Linked DNA regions of Homo sapiens: region 1 is linked to region 2. Evidence: promoter capture Hi-C in 16 types of primary human blood cells and fetal thymus (Javierre and others, 2016). All regions are on one chromosome and are shown on one strand. Each heading gives the region's core, a stretch centred on a gene start or on the middle of the fragment in contact. The rest is flanking DNA. Distances are from core to core; before and after follow the strand shown.

Region 1 (4,256 bases), core at 1,009-3,508, 550 kb after region 2:
ATACAAGTAGCTTTGTGAGAGTATAAGGATACACAATTTGCTGGACTCCAGAGGCAAGGAGACACCAAAGAAAAGAGATAAATTAACTCACAAAGGGTTAAAGTAAGTGTGGGAGATACAAGATGGGAGCAAAATCAGAGACTGCTGGCAGTTAGGATGGCAGGGTTGAAAGAGCAAGGCTATGCTGTGATGAACTGTTTTCAGTTGGCAAGAAGGAAGTCCTTATATGCCTGATGTCCATATTTTCCAAGCCAAAAACTGGCATAACGTCTAACGAACATAAGTATACTTATGGACACAATGGGACAAAATGAAATCAGGGCTGTCCTGGAAATCCAGAATATATGGTTACTATCTGGAAATGGTCTGTTTTTAAAAGAACCCAACCCCAGCATGACTAAAGAACTGCATAGAGTTTCACAATACCCTTATACAGTCTCTAGTTATGACTCACCTGAATGATGAATGCTCAATGGGCACATGACCATTAAAAAATTAGAGCATGGGCCGGGCGTAATGGCTCACTCCTGTAATCCTAACACTTTGGGAGGCCCAGGCAGCCGGATCACTTGAGCCCATGAGTTTGAGACCACCCTGAGCAACATAGCAAAAACCCGTCTCTACAAAAAATTTACAAAAATTAGCCAGGCATGGTGTTGTGCGCCTGTAGTCCTAGGTACTTGGGAGGCTCAGGTGGGAGGATCACCTGAGCCTGGGAGGTTGAGGCTGCAGTGAGCTGTGATTGTGCCACTGCCCTCCAGCCTGGGTGGCAGAGTGAGACCCTGTCTCAAAAAAAAAAAAAAAAATTAGAGCATGTATGCAAAGTTACTTAACGTCATCTTCTCTGTCCTCCCATTCCACCAGCTCCTTCCGGTTTCATAAATTCATTGGCCATCTGGAGACCTTAGTTAAAAAAAATCATGAGGCTAATCCCTAGTATCCTACATTAGTTACTACTGAATTTTGATACCAGTTCAAGGGTCCTTTTGGGGTATCTGATTATCTTTGATAGCCAGGAGGCCCACAAGGTGCTTCAATACTAAATTACGTTCATAAGTTAATAGTTTCTTGAGCTCCAATAGACAACTAAGTAGAATTTTCAACCACTGGTTAAAAGAGATAATGGTCTTACTGCCAATGATTCTGTCAATTATGAGACCAGCTACTATCATGTGAGAGATAGGTGAGTTTAAACAGTTTGCCTTCTTGTGAAGGTAGTGGGTTTAAGAAAAAGAACTCCAGCTATCAGAATTCAAGAGTAGGGTGTCAAAAGAGGGGATGAAGGATAAACTATCTCTTACTATTGTGTTACCTTTCCATACAGAAACATTTTTCTCAAATAGAACCAAAATGCAGAGACACACTAACTGGTGTAGTCACCTAATGTGACTGAGACTGAGGAGGAGTCGTTGAATCAGATGATCTTTTTACTTCAGGGAAGTGCCTCCAGACCTAGTTGACAAAAACTGTCAAATTGTTTTGGTTTCTTCTCCAATCCTGGAAAACACAGACCACCTTGTTGTAGTTGTAGGGAGGACATCTATTAGACCTCAGAGTTACAGTAATGAGGATGTCTTGTTCCAATTTCTATCTGCAGCAGTTCACACTTCCTTATGTAACCAGGGGCTCCCTGGTTTCCTGAGTATCACCATTCTGGGGAAGAAATCAGTGTGTATACTGATGCTCAGAATACCCGACCTCAACAATTTCTTATACCTTAATCTTCCAAGTTACTAGTCTACATGACACTGTCTAGTACAGGGTAGAGTTGTGAATACCATACCCCTGAAAGACTTAGTCTGTTACCGGGAAGCAAGTCAAAACTAGGTATTCAAAGCATAGAGTGGCTGGAATAAAAGAGACTAAAAAGAAAGCTAAGAAGTTTCCTTGCCCCATTCTTTCGCAATAGAGAGAATGGTTTAGACAGTGTACAAGGCCATCCCACAAGGATAAACAAGATGAGAAGCCAAACTGCAGTTGATGGGGTCAACTTAGTACAAGAAACCATTATTAAGCACCTTCTCTACTATTTTTGCCATGCACTTGGGATAAGAAAGGAAAAAGACCATCCTCACTCTTCAGGAGCTTATACTCTAATAAGTGAAGGAGAGAAATACATGAATAGAATTTAATATACAGCAGTAAATGATAAGAAAATAGCTATGAATGAGGAATTATGGGACACAAAGGAGAGACACTTAGCCAGTTTGGTAGTTCAGGGAAGCAAGAAAGAGGACCATGACTGCAGAAAGGACTTTAGCTCAGTATCTGTGACTTGGAGCCATCAGATAGCATAAATCAAAAAGAGTAAAGGAAGAAGGCAGGCTAGAAATCTCACAAAGAGCTGAAGTAGCACCATGGCTTTTGGCATTTTTTAGGTGGCAAAAACTTTGAAGAGTGGAGAGTTCTCCCTCAGCACGATGCCCATTCACCTACCCACCCTCATATATCTTTACAGAAGATTTGATTTGGTAGAGAAACAGGGAAGCAAAGCAGGTATGTAAAACATCCAGAAGGATGCACACCACATAATAGGTTCTCAGCAATTTCTCTTGATTTCTCCTCACAAGCTCTACCAGAATTTCAAGAGTCAGATTGTGCGCTCTCAGAAACTGACAGAATACTGGAGATCTTCAAAGTATAACTGCAAGCAAAATCATAGACATTACTGCAGGGCTTCATCAATGTATGGCTGACAGAGCTCTCCAAATTCATTAGAAATGGTACAGCCCTTCTTTTTGGATAAACAATGCTAGCCTAACATGAGCCTCTAGATCACCACCCACATTATTCAGTTAAATGCCAAACTATACCATTTCTTTCCTGTACTATTGTTTGTACTTATTCTTTCCTCACAAATCTAATCTCACAGCTAATTCTTATGTAGACTAGAGTCCACCCTGGACTAAACTATTCTGATATTTTCTTCAATAATGACTCTGATTTAAATGTGTCTAATCCCTCACTTATTCAACCATATAACTTCTACAGCATTCCCACATAGGTTAGAAAATCAAGTCAAAATGAATAAACAGATGCTTTAATTTTAAGCCACTCCACTCTTCTCTCTCTTGATTCAAGAATTCTCAAATATACTTATTTCCCAACAGCTCTCTAAACAAAACTACTTACTCAGCTCTGTTTATGATCCTCACTGACTAGAATGTCTAGTCCTCTCCCCCTAAATAAAATTCTAAATCCATATTTGAAACATAATTCAAAACTGTCCATGAATCCTTCCCTCAACAAATAAGTCCATTAACTTCAAAATTATTAATATGTCTCCCTCATTCCCATGTATTATCATAAATACCCAACTCCCCATTATCCACATGTGGCAATTTCTACCTCTTTTAGTCACCCACTTCTGACCACTTAAGGCACTGGAGCAAGGTACAGAAGGCACATAAAGCCAGTTCACAGAATGAGGGAAAAAGTCAAGAAAAGGAGGCAAGGATATTACTATTTTACACTATTTACATTAGGATCCCCCACAGAAGCAGAGATAATGAGAGATGATTATACTCATAGACACACACAAAATTTAATTACATCAATGTATATTAAAATTTGAAACATACTAGTCATAGAAATAGCCACCTGCTTAGTTAGCTAGAAAAGATAGTTTACTTACATTATGTCCCAGTGGAAGAACAAGTTGGTAAATTATTCTATTTATACTGGAAGTTTACAGGCCAACGTTGATATGAAACATATATGTACATAAACACACATACCTACAAGGCAAATGTGCCCAGCCTATTTATCTCTGTAAGAAATCCTGCCAAACCAAAAATGCACTATTTTATTCGTTAAATTCCTATTAGTCCACAGTATACTGTCAAATACACAGATGGCACTCAAATGGTAGTTGACAGTGCTCTTCAATACAAATCTATCAAGCCAAATTCAGGAAGAAATTAATCTTTAATCATGAAAACGCTCAAGAAAACATCCTGCATGTTACAGCATTCTTATAATTGTACTGGAAGATATACTGTAATTTACTTAGTATAGCCAAGAATTTATAGAACCATGATTCAGAGTTGCACACAATCTGATTTTAGCACTGAAGCTGAAAAATAAAACATACTGGAATCAACCCAACTTGCTCTATTTCCTGGAATACAGGTAGAAACCCATTATAGTTAACATCAGGAAAACAGGAACTTCTATATTACAATGTAATATCCTATAGTGAACTCACAGTACTTTGTTGATTTGGTTACAAAAAATTATTTACAGCAAATAATCAA
Region 2 (4,850 bases), core at 133-2,632:
ATGGCAGTACCATCATTGAATCTCCACCTGCTGCCTTACGTATCAAGAACATTTAAAAGTCTTTCTTGTTAGAGACAAAATAAAAGAAAAACTAAGGTGACAAGCGACTATGAGAAATAAGGCTTTAATCAGGTTAAATTTGCATTATGCAGCCTGCATGAATTTAGAGGTCCTAGAATCAAAACACTAGAAGGAACCTTTGATATGCTCTAGTTCAACAGACTGATTTTTGCAGAAGAGGAAACTGAAGCGCTGATGAGACCATTAACTGATAAAGCAAACCGCTTACTTTTTCAAAGGGATTCATTTCAATGCCATTTTACCCTTATTTTGCATCTCACTGTTGTTTCTCAGAGCGACGATTGACCTTTTTTTAGGTGAAAAGAGCGAATAGAGCGTATTAATTTCAAGAGGGTGAAAAATGCCTTTGAAGGAGGAGATGCTGGAGTGAAGAGGAGAAATGACGTCTTATTTAAAATATGTAACCCCTTGATGGGGTTAGACAATGAATCATATTCTCCTAGATTTTTCTATGTCTATAGACATCAGCCACAGTTCTTTCAGGCACTCAAACGAGAGGAAGAGGAAGTGAATAAAGCTCATACTAAATATATAGCACCCACTGAAGGCAGGGATGTAGACAGAAAGAACGGGGGTGGGGGAAGGAAGGAAAGCACGCTTCGCCAGGATCCAGCTGTTTTCTAACAAACCTAAGCCTACGGAAGCTAGGAAGATATCGGAAGCAAGGAAGATATCGGAAGCGACGGCATCCCTCAAATTCGAGAGGGCGGATGCCTCTAGGGCTAGAGAGGCTCCCTAGCCCTCAGTTACAGAGCGACTGGGAGGGGACAAAATGGAGTTGAGGTTTAGGGGCACCCTAAAGGTCGTTTGGAGGTCTAGCAAGCACTTCATGGTCTCCTCCGGAAAGGGCCGTGGCAAAGCCTAGTACCCCGATCAGGAAGATGACTTCTGGCCCTCGGGATGCGGTGAGCGGCAGGAAGAGGCAGGCTGGGGTTCCGAGGACCCCAGAGTCCATCACAGGAGCAGATACAGTGACCTCGGGAATCTTCCCGGCCCCAGCGGAGGCGAGCGGATAGATAGCCCTGGCTCAAGGAAAAAAGCGAGCCGACTCCAGGAGCTGGAATGCCCACCCAACCTCCTCCCGGCTCAGGTGAGGTACGCCAGTCCCCCTCTGGAAATGGGGCCCTGGTACCGACAGGGCAGGGGTGCCGGGGCCGCAACCTCCCCATCCAGGGATACTCACCGGAGGGGCGGCCCACCGCGTCTTCGCAGCCGGCCGGCGCCTGGCACTCGGAAAGCTCGCAAAAAGGAACCGCGTGCCCGCTAGCGCTGGGACGAGGAGGAGCGCGCGGCGGAGGCCAGAGAAAAAGCCGCAGCGGCGCGCGCGCACCCGGACAGCCGGCGGAGGCGGGACTCAGCGCGAGCCCGGAAAAGACGCGCCCGGAGGGGCGGGCGGAGCGGGGGCGCGCGGTGGTGTGGCAGAGCCAGCCGAATCGCTGGCTGCAGACGGCTCGGCCCACCCACGCGCCCGCCCCCGCTCGCCCGGGACGTCAGTCGAAAAGGCGGAGCCGAACGGGCTTCCCGGGGCGCGGGAGGGGCGCTGCGAGGAAGGCGAGGCGGCTAACGGCTCGCCTCAAGTTGTTGCTCCCGCTGGCGATCCGCTTCTGTCAGTCTCGCTGCTGGTGTCGTTGAGTGTGTTTCGGGATGTCCTTGCGCCTAACAGCAGTGAGGCGCAGAATTGGCCCACGCCCTCACCTGCGGCTTGCTTCGCAGGACTCCACCCCAGGATAAAAGTTCCCCTCGGGTCATCTTCCAGCTGCCCTCAAAAGACACTCATTTTTGGGTTTCACTGCTCCTCTTTAAGAGAGCTATCTTGAACACTTTGACTAAAAGCATCTTGCTCCTGTAAGCCTGAACTAATGCCTCTCATCCGTTTATCTTGCCTCTTACTGCGTTAAGATCCCCGCTCACTCCCACTGATGAAATATCACAAGGACGCAGGATTTTCACGTTGTCTTTCATTTCCACGATGGTATCATGGCAAAAAAACCCCCAACTGATAAGGAAAAGTCACCGCAGCTTTGTGACATCTTACTAGCCCTGATCATTGCTTATAAGCCGGTCATACGAATGCTGTTCCAACAGATGCAAGAAATTGCTATTAAAATTAAAATGCCAGCGAACTATCTGAGGGCTTCAAAAGGGACAGACCATAATTGCAAATGAGGCCTGATAAACTGCCAAGAATATATCACCCAAAAAAATAAATCTCAAGAATTCTTCCAGTTCCCTGATGCGTAATGGTGAACTAGCTTCCTGTTCCTGATGGTAATTGACATTTCACTTCACTTGCTGATTTCCATTTTCCCATAGAATTACCATTTGTGCTTGTGTGTGTGTATATATATATGTATATATAAAATGCCTTACCACCTGAGATTACAAGCTAGAGTAGTTCTTCAGTGTGCATCACAATTATCTGGGGTGCTTGTTGAAATGTAGGTACCTGGAGCTACAACCCCCAGGTATTTTGATTCTGATCTGGGTAGGGATAAGAAATTTGAATTTTTAATAAGCAGCCCAGGTGACACTAAAAGTGGTTAGCTGAGAGCACAGAGCTATAGTTTTTGTGTTACTACTCTAAAGCCATATTACCAATTCAATTTCCAAGAAACCCACCCACTTACATATAATATACCTATAAATATTGCTAAGACAGTCATGTAGCTTCCTTTTTCAAGATTGACCTACAAAGTTCAGTACTTCAAACAACGAGTTTAATTGTCATGTTTATTTTATGAAATCTTGTTTTAATACCAGAAATAAGCAATCATATGTCAGGTACGTAATTCACTGGGTAACTATGATGTACAGAGCACTATCACCTACAGTTGGGTTAACACAAATGAAATTGAAGAAATGAATATCGCTGTTCTCAATAAAGTTAGTGTCTAGTTGTGGAATTAAAATATAGATATAATACAAACCCAGTGTAGCACATAAATCAGTGTGCTGGATGAAGATGAAAAAGAACTTGTAATTAAAGAGTACTTTTGCCAGTTTCCTTTATTGTCGGTCTCTTAGCCCAGACATTTTCAATTAGGTAATTTCCTCTGAACAGAGTCTTCAGCTTACTGAAGTTCCTCCAGCTCTACAAGATATAAAGGAAAGAAATCACTATAGCCTGAAACTATCCGTTTTTTGGTATACAAATGTGTGTATGATATACATATAGATATGTTTATCAGACCAAGAAACTACTTGGATTTTCAAGATCTCTTATTACTTAAGCTATTCATTAGTGTGTACAGTTCTGGCTGTCTTCATCACCTACCACATCTCACCTTCTTCCACATTTAACTGCACCCAAGTTGAAGAGGAAAGAAGAACTATACCTCCAAAAAGGAAACCAAGTATAACCACGCTATTTCCAGCTTTCCTTTTTCGGAGTCAAAACAAACCTTGCTTAATTTCTTGTCATCAGAAACCTTCCAGAAATTACTGCCCAGGAGCAAAATATTTCCCAAGCAGCTGTCTGACATTTTAAAGAGAACATTTGCAACGTTGTTTATTAGTTAGGAAGATAGGGTATTATTATCCCTATTTCACAGATGAAGAAATAGATGCAGGTTAAGTGTCTTGTCCAGTCACACAACTAAGTAGTAACAGAGCCTGAATTTCCTACTACACTGCTTATGACTCCTAGACCAGGGTGCTTGCCGCTACATTAAGCTGCCTCTGTAATGAGTCCTACCCAGAACTACCAACCCAATTAGAAATGGAGTAGATAAACGTATGGAAATGGAAGAGTTAGGAAAATGTACAATGCAATTGACAGATTCAAAATGCAATGTAATAAGTACTAAAAGCATGAGAATTAGTCTGTTAGAAGCTAAACAGAATTTAAAGGACAGCTCTGTTAACAGGCACTGATATTTAGGCCTTGCCTATTTTATTATTCTGTAACAAGAAGCTGAAACAGATAGCCAGGCTGCTCTTGGCATTAGTTATTTATGGAAGGGCAGAAAACAACTGTTCTTCATTGACTGTGTAACAAGCCTTTGCGTGTTAAACTTCACGGGTTTGTAGAATAATAATAATTTTCTCCTGTGGTCTAAATACAAGCAGCAGGGCTTCATAATAATATTTGCATTGACAAGTTGTGTTAGATTTTGTCATTAACAAACCTTATTTTTTGCAGACCCAACAACCAGGCCAAATATTGTCTTTAGTGGCTTGTGTTAAACAACCGGTGAAATCAGAAACCTACGTAGATGATCATCTCACTGTGAACATAAATAATAACCTAAGCCACTCCTTTCAAAAATGATCAAAGGCATAGTAGCTACATCTAAATGTTATTTTTGAGAAATGATTTGTTTTTTCAAAATAACTATTTCTTTTCATTCTGGCACATTTTTCAGGTTTTTAAATTAATGGAAACACCAAAACAAATAGACATCTAGTGCACCCAGATAGGAAGACACAGTATTGCATGGAGTCAAGTTTTTCCAAATTAATCCGTCAAGACAGTGTGGTCCACATCAAAATCACAGCAGGATTTTAATGGAACTTAATTTCGGTTTCTCTCATGAAACTCATTTGTCCTTTTTAAAGATAACTACAACACCCTCTAAATAAAATCCTCCACAGTTATCCTTGAAATTGTTTGTGTGACCTTCCCATAAAGAATCAAAAATAACAAAATATTTTTATTATCCATAAGGCCATGAGTATGTGAAAAATCTATTGTGGTTGTCATTGAATCTGTAAGAAAGTTGCCTTTGGTATATTTTTGCCCACTCTCTGTAGTGATTCTAGCCTAGTAA

What was found. Contacts are between HindIII fragments. The CHiCAGO score rates a contact against its expected background, and 5 or more counts as called.
Region 1: a contact is called between a fragment that was not itself captured here and the fragment with the promoter of ACSL4 in region 2, in 1 of 17 cell types (activated CD4 T cells). The highest score is 5.2, in activated CD4 T cells.

The regions. Positions count from the first base shown.
Region 1 is chrX:110,285,883-110,290,138 of GRCh38, forward strand. The region is part of intron 1 of AMMECR1 (AMMECR nuclear protein 1); the gene reads right to left. Among named protein-coding and RNA genes, the nearest start is that of AMMECR1, 30 kb to the right of the region's middle. The HindIII fragment of the contact is 6,097 bases long and covers 1-4,256 here.
Region 2 is chrX:109,731,875-109,736,724 of GRCh38, forward strand. It overlaps ACSL4 (acyl-CoA synthetase long chain family member 4), which reads right to left and starts at 1,383. Exons shown (of 16, transcript NM_001318510.2): 1 at 1,265-1,383. It overlaps LOC105373311 (a long non-coding RNA gene), which reads left to right and starts at 637. Exons shown (of 1, transcript NR_158569.1): 1 at 637-3,084. RefSeq lists enhancers at 746-795, 856-995 and silencers at 1,118-1,238, 1,336-1,645. The HindIII fragment of the contact is 5,191 bases long and covers 1-4,850 here.